Linked DNA regions of Homo sapiens: region 1 is linked to region 2. Evidence: promoter capture Hi-C in 16 types of primary human blood cells and fetal thymus (Javierre and others, 2016). All regions are on one chromosome and are shown on one strand. The core of a region is centred on a gene start or on the middle of the fragment in contact, and the rest is flanking DNA. Distances in the headings are between cores, read along the strand shown.

The links. The method cuts DNA at HindIII sites, captures the fragments that hold promoters and counts their contacts. A CHiCAGO score of 5 or more calls a contact.
Region 1: a contact is called between a fragment that was not itself captured here and the fragment with the promoter of MON2-AS1 in region 2, in 1 of 17 cell types (non-activated CD4 T cells). The highest score is 6.0, in non-activated CD4 T cells.

Annotation. Positions count from the first base shown.
Region 1 is chr12:65,169,032-65,173,676 of GRCh38, reverse strand. LEMD3 (LEM domain containing 3) reads right to left here and starts at 4,094. Exons shown (of 13, transcript NM_014319.5): 1 at 2,559-4,094. The coding sequence starts at 4,080. LOC124902953 (a long non-coding RNA gene) reads left to right here and starts at 4,261. Exons shown (of 2, transcript XR_007063349.1): 1 at 4,261-4,460. RefSeq lists enhancers at 2,937-3,016, 3,927-4,076, 3,759-4,331, 4,517-4,576 and silencers at 3,010-3,213, 3,597-3,806. The HindIII fragment of the contact is 787 bases long and covers 1,522-2,308 here.
Region 2 is chr12:62,482,332-62,486,663 of GRCh38, reverse strand. MON2-AS1 (MON2 antisense RNA 1) reads left to right here and starts at 1,722. Exons shown (of 2, transcript NR_186172.1): 1 at 1,722-1,895; 2 at 3,632-4,315. It overlaps MON2 (MON2 regulator of endosome-to-Golgi trafficking), which reads right to left. Exons shown (of 35, transcript NM_015026.3): 2 at 2,431-2,494. The HindIII fragment of the contact is 7,471 bases long and covers 1-2,214 here.

The DNA of each region.
Region 1 (4,645 bases), core at 666-3,165, 2.7 Mb before region 2:
CTGTAGTTTACCAGGAATACAACAAATTTTGTCCAAATTTCTGAATAATACCACCTTATGTTTAACACACTGTCTCACCTGACCCTCACAAACAAACCCAGAGACAGCAGATATTATTACTTCCATTTAGTATATAAAAATGAGGCTCAGAGATTAAGGAGCTTGACCACAGTCATTCAGACAAGTCCTAGAACCTAGATCCTCTACTTCTTAGCCATTGTTCTTTCCAACGCCCAGATTACTTCACATTTACCATTTACTAAAATGTAAATATAATTTCCTTCCTTCCTTATCAGTGAAGGTGAAGAGTACCAAAATCCTAGCATTCCTATCCTATTCTACCTGAACTTTTAGTACACCACATTAGTCATTCATCTTAACACTGATGAGAAAGATGTGAAAGTCACCTTAACTGAGAATTGTGCTTATCAATAATTCTGTATGAAATCCTACCAAATAGTCAATTACTTTCTTAATCATAATAAAGGTACCCACTTATTTAGAAAGCTCTCTACAAACAATAACCAAAACAGTGTTAAAATGGTCTTTCTAGTTGGAAATAAAATCTGAAACCAAATCTTAGCCCTACTACTAACTGTTCAACACTCAGTGCATTTCTTAACTTAGTATCATCCTCATCCAAAAATGAGGATACCACCACCTGCTTCTGTGAGTTGCTGGGAAGATTAGATGGTACAATAGGTGTAAAGCAATTAGCTCTTAGAAAATGGCCAGATCTGCTAACATGGTGAAACCCTGTCTCTACTAAAAATACAAAAAAAATTTAGCCAGGTGTGGCGGCACGCGCATGTAGTCCCAGCTACTTGGGAGGCTGAGGCAGGAGAATCACTTGAACCCAGGAGGCGGAGGTTGCAGTGACCAGAGATTGTGCCACTGCACTCCAGCCTAGCGACAGAGCTAGACTCTGTCTAAAAAAAAAAAAAAAGAAAAGAAAAAGGCCAGATCTTATAGTTGTTAGAGACACAGATGCAGATAGCTACTGCTGATAGGTAATGTCATTTAATTTATGTGAACTTTTACTTGTTTAACTTCTAGTGTGCCCTTATTTTTTTTCTCCCAAATATTTGGGGCAGGACACAATACACTCATGCTCCCAGGGAATAAACTAAAGTGAGAGCTGAATTTCATTCTTGTTTCAACCCCTGTAATTAAGCAACAGAGTAAAAATCTATTATTTGACTGTCTCGGAATTGGCTATATCTAAATCTAAGCTTACATTATTTTGACTCCTACTCTTTATCTGAGTTGGCTAACTGCATCTTTCACTCTATTTTGAAATAAAACTAATAAGCCAATTTTATAAATACAAATAAAAATACAGTGAATTCATCTTGGGTGAAAAGAGTAGGAAGCCTTCAGGGAGAATGCAGAGAGGGACCTAACACTGAGAAATTATGTATTCAGAAGTCCATTTTGTCCTAATTTACTTTCTCTTTTAATCTTCACAAACATTCTAGTCAATAGAGGCCTCATCTTATAGATTAGGAAAGTTCAGAAGCTTTAACTCTGACTCTCTCCCCTTTGCTCAAGGTGCTTAACCACTCTAACCTACAAGAAGGCTCTTGCTCAACTCAAGGCCTTAATCTCTGCTCAGAATGGTCTACTGTTTCTCCACAAGGCTGTCTCCTTCTGCTTCAGGTCTCACCTCAAATAGTACCTCCTCCGTTCAATCTAAAGTAGTGTACACCTACGTCAGTGTAGTCTGGTAAATTTTTTTAAAAAAGGAAAAAAAATAAAGTTGTGTACGCCAATTACTCATCTTTATTTCCTTCAGAGAACACAAAATGGTCTGTATTCATCTTCTTTTTGTGTTTAAGGGCAGAGATACTTTGATTATGACAATGAACACACCTGCCTACAGTCATTTAGCAAGTAAATAGTAGGACCTGGAAACCAATCCAAGGAAATCTGACTGCAAGCTCCTGCACTGCCCTACCACTACTTTTTGTACAGATGATAGGGAAAGTGCTTTGGGCTGGGAAATAAATTAAGAGGTGTGCCTTGCTGCTTTTTTATATTCATTCACTATAAAGAAATTATACATACAGTTAATACCACAAAATATTTAATCCGAATTTATGCATACAGTTAATATTATAAAATAATTCGAATTTCAAGAGCTATTACATTGCCTATTAGAATCACAACTCAATTTGGAAAAACACTACATTTATAATGTGCCTTATCCTAATACTTCAAATTTGTTAAGTAACTGGCATCTGCGCAAATAGTCTTTCAGGGCTAAAAGAGAATTGTCACATATACAAATGAGTTTTACTAACAAGCTTATAATATTCTTTTAAAAATTGTTTTGAATTTCACAATACATCATGCAGAAAACTTTTAAAACCAGCCATATGACATCATTTCGATAATGGTGTTCTTTAAGAAAGATGACACATGCACGCACTGTTGCGTTTTTGCTGTTAAACCATATTCTTGCAGGTAAGTCACTTCATGTAAAACGCTAAGCGCGGCTAAAGCGGACCACTAACAACATTCTCTTTGTTACCTTACCCACAGGATTTAATACTTACTGCTGAGTTCTCCATCCTCAGATACTCCTGTCCCTCTCATTCCTAGGTAAGTCAGTCCCAGTATTAGGAAAAATAAGCAGGCAGCAGTTAAGAGAAACATCGACAAGTAGTGGGCACTGAAACTCCCTGTTGGGGACACCTCCTCCCGTTTAAATTGCTGGAGAAGTTCCTCTTCGGGTTCGGAAAGCTTCGGTTTGTTGTATGTGTTTTTCAGGTAGGTATGATTGGAGCCCGTATGATTGGCGTGATTGATCCTGAGTGAACTAGAGGCGGCCACCGCCGCACTGGGAGGGAGACTGTTAGAATAAATCCTGGGGGAGTCCACACTGAAGGCCCCACCGCCAATATGATTATTGGTTTTCAGAAGGGAGCCTGTTGACGAATCCAAGGTTGAGTCCATGTCAGTAAGTGGCGGGGGCAGGAGAGGGGTCAGTTTCTTAGCGTTAACACGGTATCTAGGAACGGGGCTGGAGTCCACTTGATCACACCCTCCTCCCTGCTCCGCGGCCGCCGCCTCTTCGAGGTTTCGGCTCCTGTCTAGACTCCCGGCAGCCGCCGCCCTGTCATTCATCGCGAGTCCTCCCCCTCCCTGAACTGAAGTCTCCAGCCTGCCGCCGGCCGATTTAGCAGTCAGCGGGGGGAGAGGCTTACTATGGGTTCGTCTGGGCCGATGCCGGGAAAGGGAGTCGTCCTTTAATACCTGTCTGCTGGAGGCCACGTCGTCGTCGTCCTCTTCCTCTGAGTCCGAATAGTTTTCCCGGCAGCTGTAGGGGACAAGCCGGCTGCCATTCACGGTCCGGCTCGCCCAGAGCGGCTCCTCGGTCTCCGGGTCCCTCTCCTCACCGTCCTCTCCCTCCCCTTCCTCGTCCTCCACTGCTCCATCTTTCCCCGGCGGGGTCTGCAGCTCGGGGCCCGCCGGCCTCCTGGCCCCCCACCACGAGTGGGGCTTCCTTCGCTCTGCAGAGTTGCTGTTAGTCACCTCGCTGGCGGCCAGGGGCGCCGGCGGCGCTTTGAGCCCGCGGTACTGGAGCGAAGCCCGGTCTTTCCTCCCGCCGCCGCCGGCCTGGTCCCGGGGACTGGCCTCCACGTCCGACTCGTCCGAGCTGAAGCCCAGCAGCACTTTGCTGCCAGCCGCGGGGGCGGCGGAGGCGCCCCCGGGCCCTCCCAGGAGGCTCTCTGGGCCAGAGGCCGAGATTCGGCACAGGCCCCCAGGAGTCCGTAAGTAGGAGAGGTCGCCCGAGACCGGCCGGACCCCCATCCCCGCGGCCGCCGCCGCCGCTGGTCCCGCGGCTGCGACCGTGGCGGCTGCCGTGTTATTGTTATTACTGTTCCGCGTCTTGTTGCCGCGGCCCCCTGACCGGTGCTGTTGCTGCTCTTCCTCTCGAAGCTTCTTCAGCTTCTTGAGGTAGACCGGGCGGGTGCTCTCCGTCACTGGTCCGGGAGACAGGCCGTAACGGCGGAGCTGAGAGAAAAGCTCCTCATCCGAGAGCTGCTGAGGCGCCGAAGCTGCTGCCGCCGCCATTTTCTCTCCAGGGTGTTTTACAAGCTCCGCGCTACCGGAAGTGACGCGCCGCCCTAGACCCTGAACTAGACCGCGCTGCGTCGCCCTCCCAGCGCCGCGGGCATCTCGGCCAATGGGAGGCGCGGGAGGAGCTCACCTGAGCGGGAAAGAGCCACCTGAGCAGCGCGCGGCTCCCACGGCGGAGACTGTTTCTACTCTCTCACCTTGAGGTGTCGGCGCATTCTCCCCCTGCTCTCTATCTCATCTCCAGCTGTTCTCCGCCCTGCCCTTCCAAGTGCCGTTCCCGGGAGCTGTCTCTTACTAAACCACACCTTGACCTCACCTTCCTAGGTTCCTGCCACCGGGCAGTAATAACTGAAATCTACCTTGAAGTTTATGGCGTAAGTTTTCTTTACATCTGGATTCCCAATGCCGAGGGAGCCTAGACCTACTGAAAGAAATTCTGCTGGCCAGACTAGATTGGCAGCTTTCCCGTCTGACTTCAGGTTGTCTATTTTCAGTTCGTCTTTAGCTTGACCTACCAAAAAAAAAAAATTTTTAAGTGACTTTCTCTCGCTGCTCTTTT
Region 2 (4,332 bases), core at 473-2,972:
GTTTAGAAACTATATACTGACTAATTTAAACTCTGTTTTGAAGAGCCTCTGATTTTCAAGATGATAGTGGTCTATAAATCTACAACTTTTAGGTATAATTGCTTTAAATACTTCAGAAAAAATACTAGGATAAAGTTTAAGTGCAAATATACCTCCTCAAGTATATGGGCTCTGGATACTACGAAGATTAAAACATGACTATTAATTGTATTTGCACCAGATCTGTTCTAACTTGATTTGAATAATGCAAATTGAATTAAAATGAAATTAACAGCCTGCCTATATATTTAAATCATACCGACTAAGTCAAAATTTTTCTTACTCATCTTAAGAGTAATTTATTAGACATTTTACTTGGGATAGAATGCTGGAATAACAGTGATCCTCTGAGGAAATCAGTCTTTTTTTAAAAAAAGTCTTCCACAAACTATAAAACCAATAAAAATTTGTATTATTGGAGAATAATTAAGGACTTACCACGGTATCAACAATGATATTAGCAACAGTAAATATTTTAAATATTTACAGTGATATTCTAATACGATTGGCCTATGGTAAGTCTCCAACATAAAAATATCCAGGTCATCATTTTTCTTTAAACACCAATTTCCCCACAGTAGCTAATCTGCCTAATGTACATCTCCCATTAAAACCCACATGCTGGCCGGGCGCAGTGGCTCACGCCTGTAATCCCAACACTTGGAGAGGCCGAGGCGGGAGAACCCCGAGGTCAGGAGTTCGAGACCAGCCTAGCCAACATGATGAAACCCTGTCTCTACTAAAAATACAAAAATTAGCCAGATGTGGTGTTGGGCACCTGAAATCTCAGCTACTCGGGTGGCTGAGGCAGGAGAATCGCTTGAACCCAGGAGGCAGAGGTTGCAGTAAGCCGAGACCACACCATTGCACTCCAGCTGGGATAACAAGAGCAAAAGTCCATCTCAGGAAAAACAAACAGACAAACAAAAAAAACCCACTTGCCAGCCTTCCTAACCCTACCATGTGCACCTCTGCCTTTACCCACCACTTTCACTATACCACTTCTCAATATGCACACAGAGCATTATTTACTTCTGTGCATAATGTTATAAAACTATTGGGTGTTTTGATAAGACTGTTCAAAATCAGGGAAAAAGCTGTGGGAAACAGATGTAATTGAGGAGCGCTTATGCTAAGGGCAAATTTCCAGCAAAGCTGGATAGCCTAAGTGAAATCCACTCTTGCCCCCGATCCTTAATCTGACCCCAAAAATCTTAATTTCATTTCATAACACTCTGAAATCCCACCAGTTACAGATTTACTGGTATCCCTTTTAAAAAATGTAAAGTATATGAAAGTTAAAGAGATTATTTACTATTTGGACTCTGTAAATTAATTTAATAGGACTACTTTCCTCATAGATTAGCTGAGATCAACAGCACTACTGGAACTGGAAATGCAGATTAAAGGATCACTGAAGCAAGCACTGGTTACATATGTAATACTTGGGAGTAAGTGGCTAACGTGGAAACCTGGTGATACCATGGTAGCACACTGTAGCAGGAAGAACATGGGCTCCTGAACACTCCTGGATTTTAATCTGGTTCTATCACCTTTCCTGTGACCTTGGGCAAGTAACTTAACCTCTTCACATCTCAATTAGCTCTACTATCAAATAAGATAATATTTCCCCACAAGGTTGTTATGTAAGATAGAATGACACAAGTGCCTTGCATATAACAGATTCTTAAAAAAAAAAAAAAAAAAAAGCCAGTTTACCTCTTTTCCATGTTCATTATTGAGGCAAGAACAAAAGGCACCAAGGAAGAGAAAGGAGTGGACTGGGTAGAAAAGAAGGATGCCAAAGAGAAACTCCTGAAAATTCCTCCTTGAAAATCAGGTTCAATCAAGAGAAGGTAAGAAAACATTTTTGTTTTCTTTTCTCTACTTCACTCTCATTCTTTTTTCATGATCATACTGCCTTAATCCCAAGACTCAAAATTCATACGGTACAACTAAATACAGAAGACTATGTTATGAACTGTTCGTATTATATTAAAGAGAAAGTAGATCACAGAAGGTGGACTGAGAACAAATCTTTCATTCAATACAATGGAACAAATATTACTGAATGCTTTTTATGGTGTGTCTCAGGTGATTAGCAGGAAGTGGAGGAGAATGCGAAGATGAGTAAGAAAAAATTCCTTGCCTTTAAGGAGTCAGTAGTGTTAAGCTTTCTGATTTCAGAGAATTTTTGTAGCATTCGTCTCTGGGAAATACAGTCAGTTCATAAGTTATGGACTTTTGCCCATTCTGTTTCATTATGAATAGCATATGTTAGGGCATGAGGAAGAGATGTTACAGAAAACTGATGGCTTTTACAATAAAGATTCTACTTTTACTATTAGTCAAATTTTTGTTTATTATTAAATTTTTAATACAAAAAATTACCTGCCAAAATTTCAGTGTTTCGTGCAGCAATTGTTTTAACTTTTATTATTCCTGATTCAGCAGCCTGCAAGAATAAAAATAATTAGAACACAAAATTTACTGCCAAAATGAATTATCTATGGAAAATAAGTCATATGTGATAGACAAAATATCAAGCACAAAGTCAGTCACTACCCTACCACCTTTTTAATTTTCAAACCATCAGATACTAAGCCCAGTAGTGACATATACGTTAAATGTAATAAAACATGATTAATTTGATTATTCACATGCAAACTCTGAATGCACTACAACATGTTGCCTTCCTCTGCCTTAAGGCATTATCTGGAATACCTCAATCCCCTGCAAAGTTAAATTTTCCGAGAATAAAAATAACAAACAAAAACAAAATCTACTGAAAATAATTAGGCTCCTTTTCCCCATTTCAAGCCTCCTCTCTCTCCACCACACACAAAAAAATTATAGAACACTGCAAAATCAAGTAAAACTACTGTGTTGGATTTATTTATTTATTGTTGATGGAGTTTTTTGCTCTTGTTGCCCAGGCTGGAGTCCAATGGCACGATCTTGGCTCACTACAACCTCCGCCTCCCTGGTTCAAGCCATTCTCCTGCCTCAGCCTCCCAAGTAGCTGGGATTACAGGCACCCACCACCATGCCTGGCTAATTTTTGTATTTTTAGTAGAGTGTTTTATTTTTGTACTTTTTGTATTTTTAGTTGGCCAGGCTGGTCTTGAACTCCTGACCTCAAGTGATCCACCCATCTCAGCCTCCCAAAGTGCCAGGATTACAGGCATGGGCCACCGTGCCCAGACCTGTGTTGGATTTTAAAAGCTACTTTGTTTTCTTTTTTGAGAATGGATAACCAAACACTTCATTAACCGTAGTATGTTTAGCGGGCAGTACTGGCAAGTCACATAGTATTTTACAGAATGCCACAGAACTGCACTGTCCAATTTGGTAGCCATTTGGCTACATGTGGCTATTAAGCACTTGAAATGTGGCCAGTCTGAATTGAGCTATGCTCTAAGTGTAAAATATATACTAGGTTTTGAAGACTTAGTATTAAAAAAAAGAATATAACCTATCCCCTAAATATTTATACTGACTACATGTTGAAATAATATTTCAAATTATTACGTTAAATTATTATTAAAATTAAATGTCTGTTTCTTTTTACTTTTTTTCCCCTTTTTTTTAGAGACAGGATCTTGCTGTACTGCCCAGCCTGGAGTGCAATGCCACAATCATGGCTTACAGCAGCCTCAAACTACTGGGCTCAAGTGATCCTTCCACCACCGTCTTCCAAGGAGCTGGTACTATAGGTACATGCCACCATGTCCAGCTAATTTTTCAATTTTTTTGGTAGAGACAGGGCCTTGCTATATTGCCTAGGCTAGTCTTGAACTACTGGCCTCAACCGATCCTCCCACCTCAGCCTCCCAAAGTGCTAAGATTACAAGCATGAGCCACTGCACCTGGCTTCTTTTTACTTTTTAATGCAGTTAAAAATTACGTATATGTATTACATCTGTAGCCCACATTATAATTCCATTGAAGAGTGCTGAGATATAATATTGACATATTATTTCCATCATAGAAACTTGGAACATTTTTATTATTTAGAAACATGCTATTTTATACATACACTGTTATCTATACTTCCAAAGATAGTAAGTACGTACTCATAAGAAGCTATATGTACAAGTTTTCTTATTAATTTGCTTGCTACTTGGTCATTTATTTTATCTCTTACTGCTTGCTAAGGGACAAGTGGTAGCAGTCTCTAAAGGTTTAAAAATAATTATGTAAAAACACCAGTATGCTATGGCCTGTTAGTCTGACAAACAATGAATTGATGTCTAAAATAAAGAACACATTGTAAGATATACCATGTGCAGT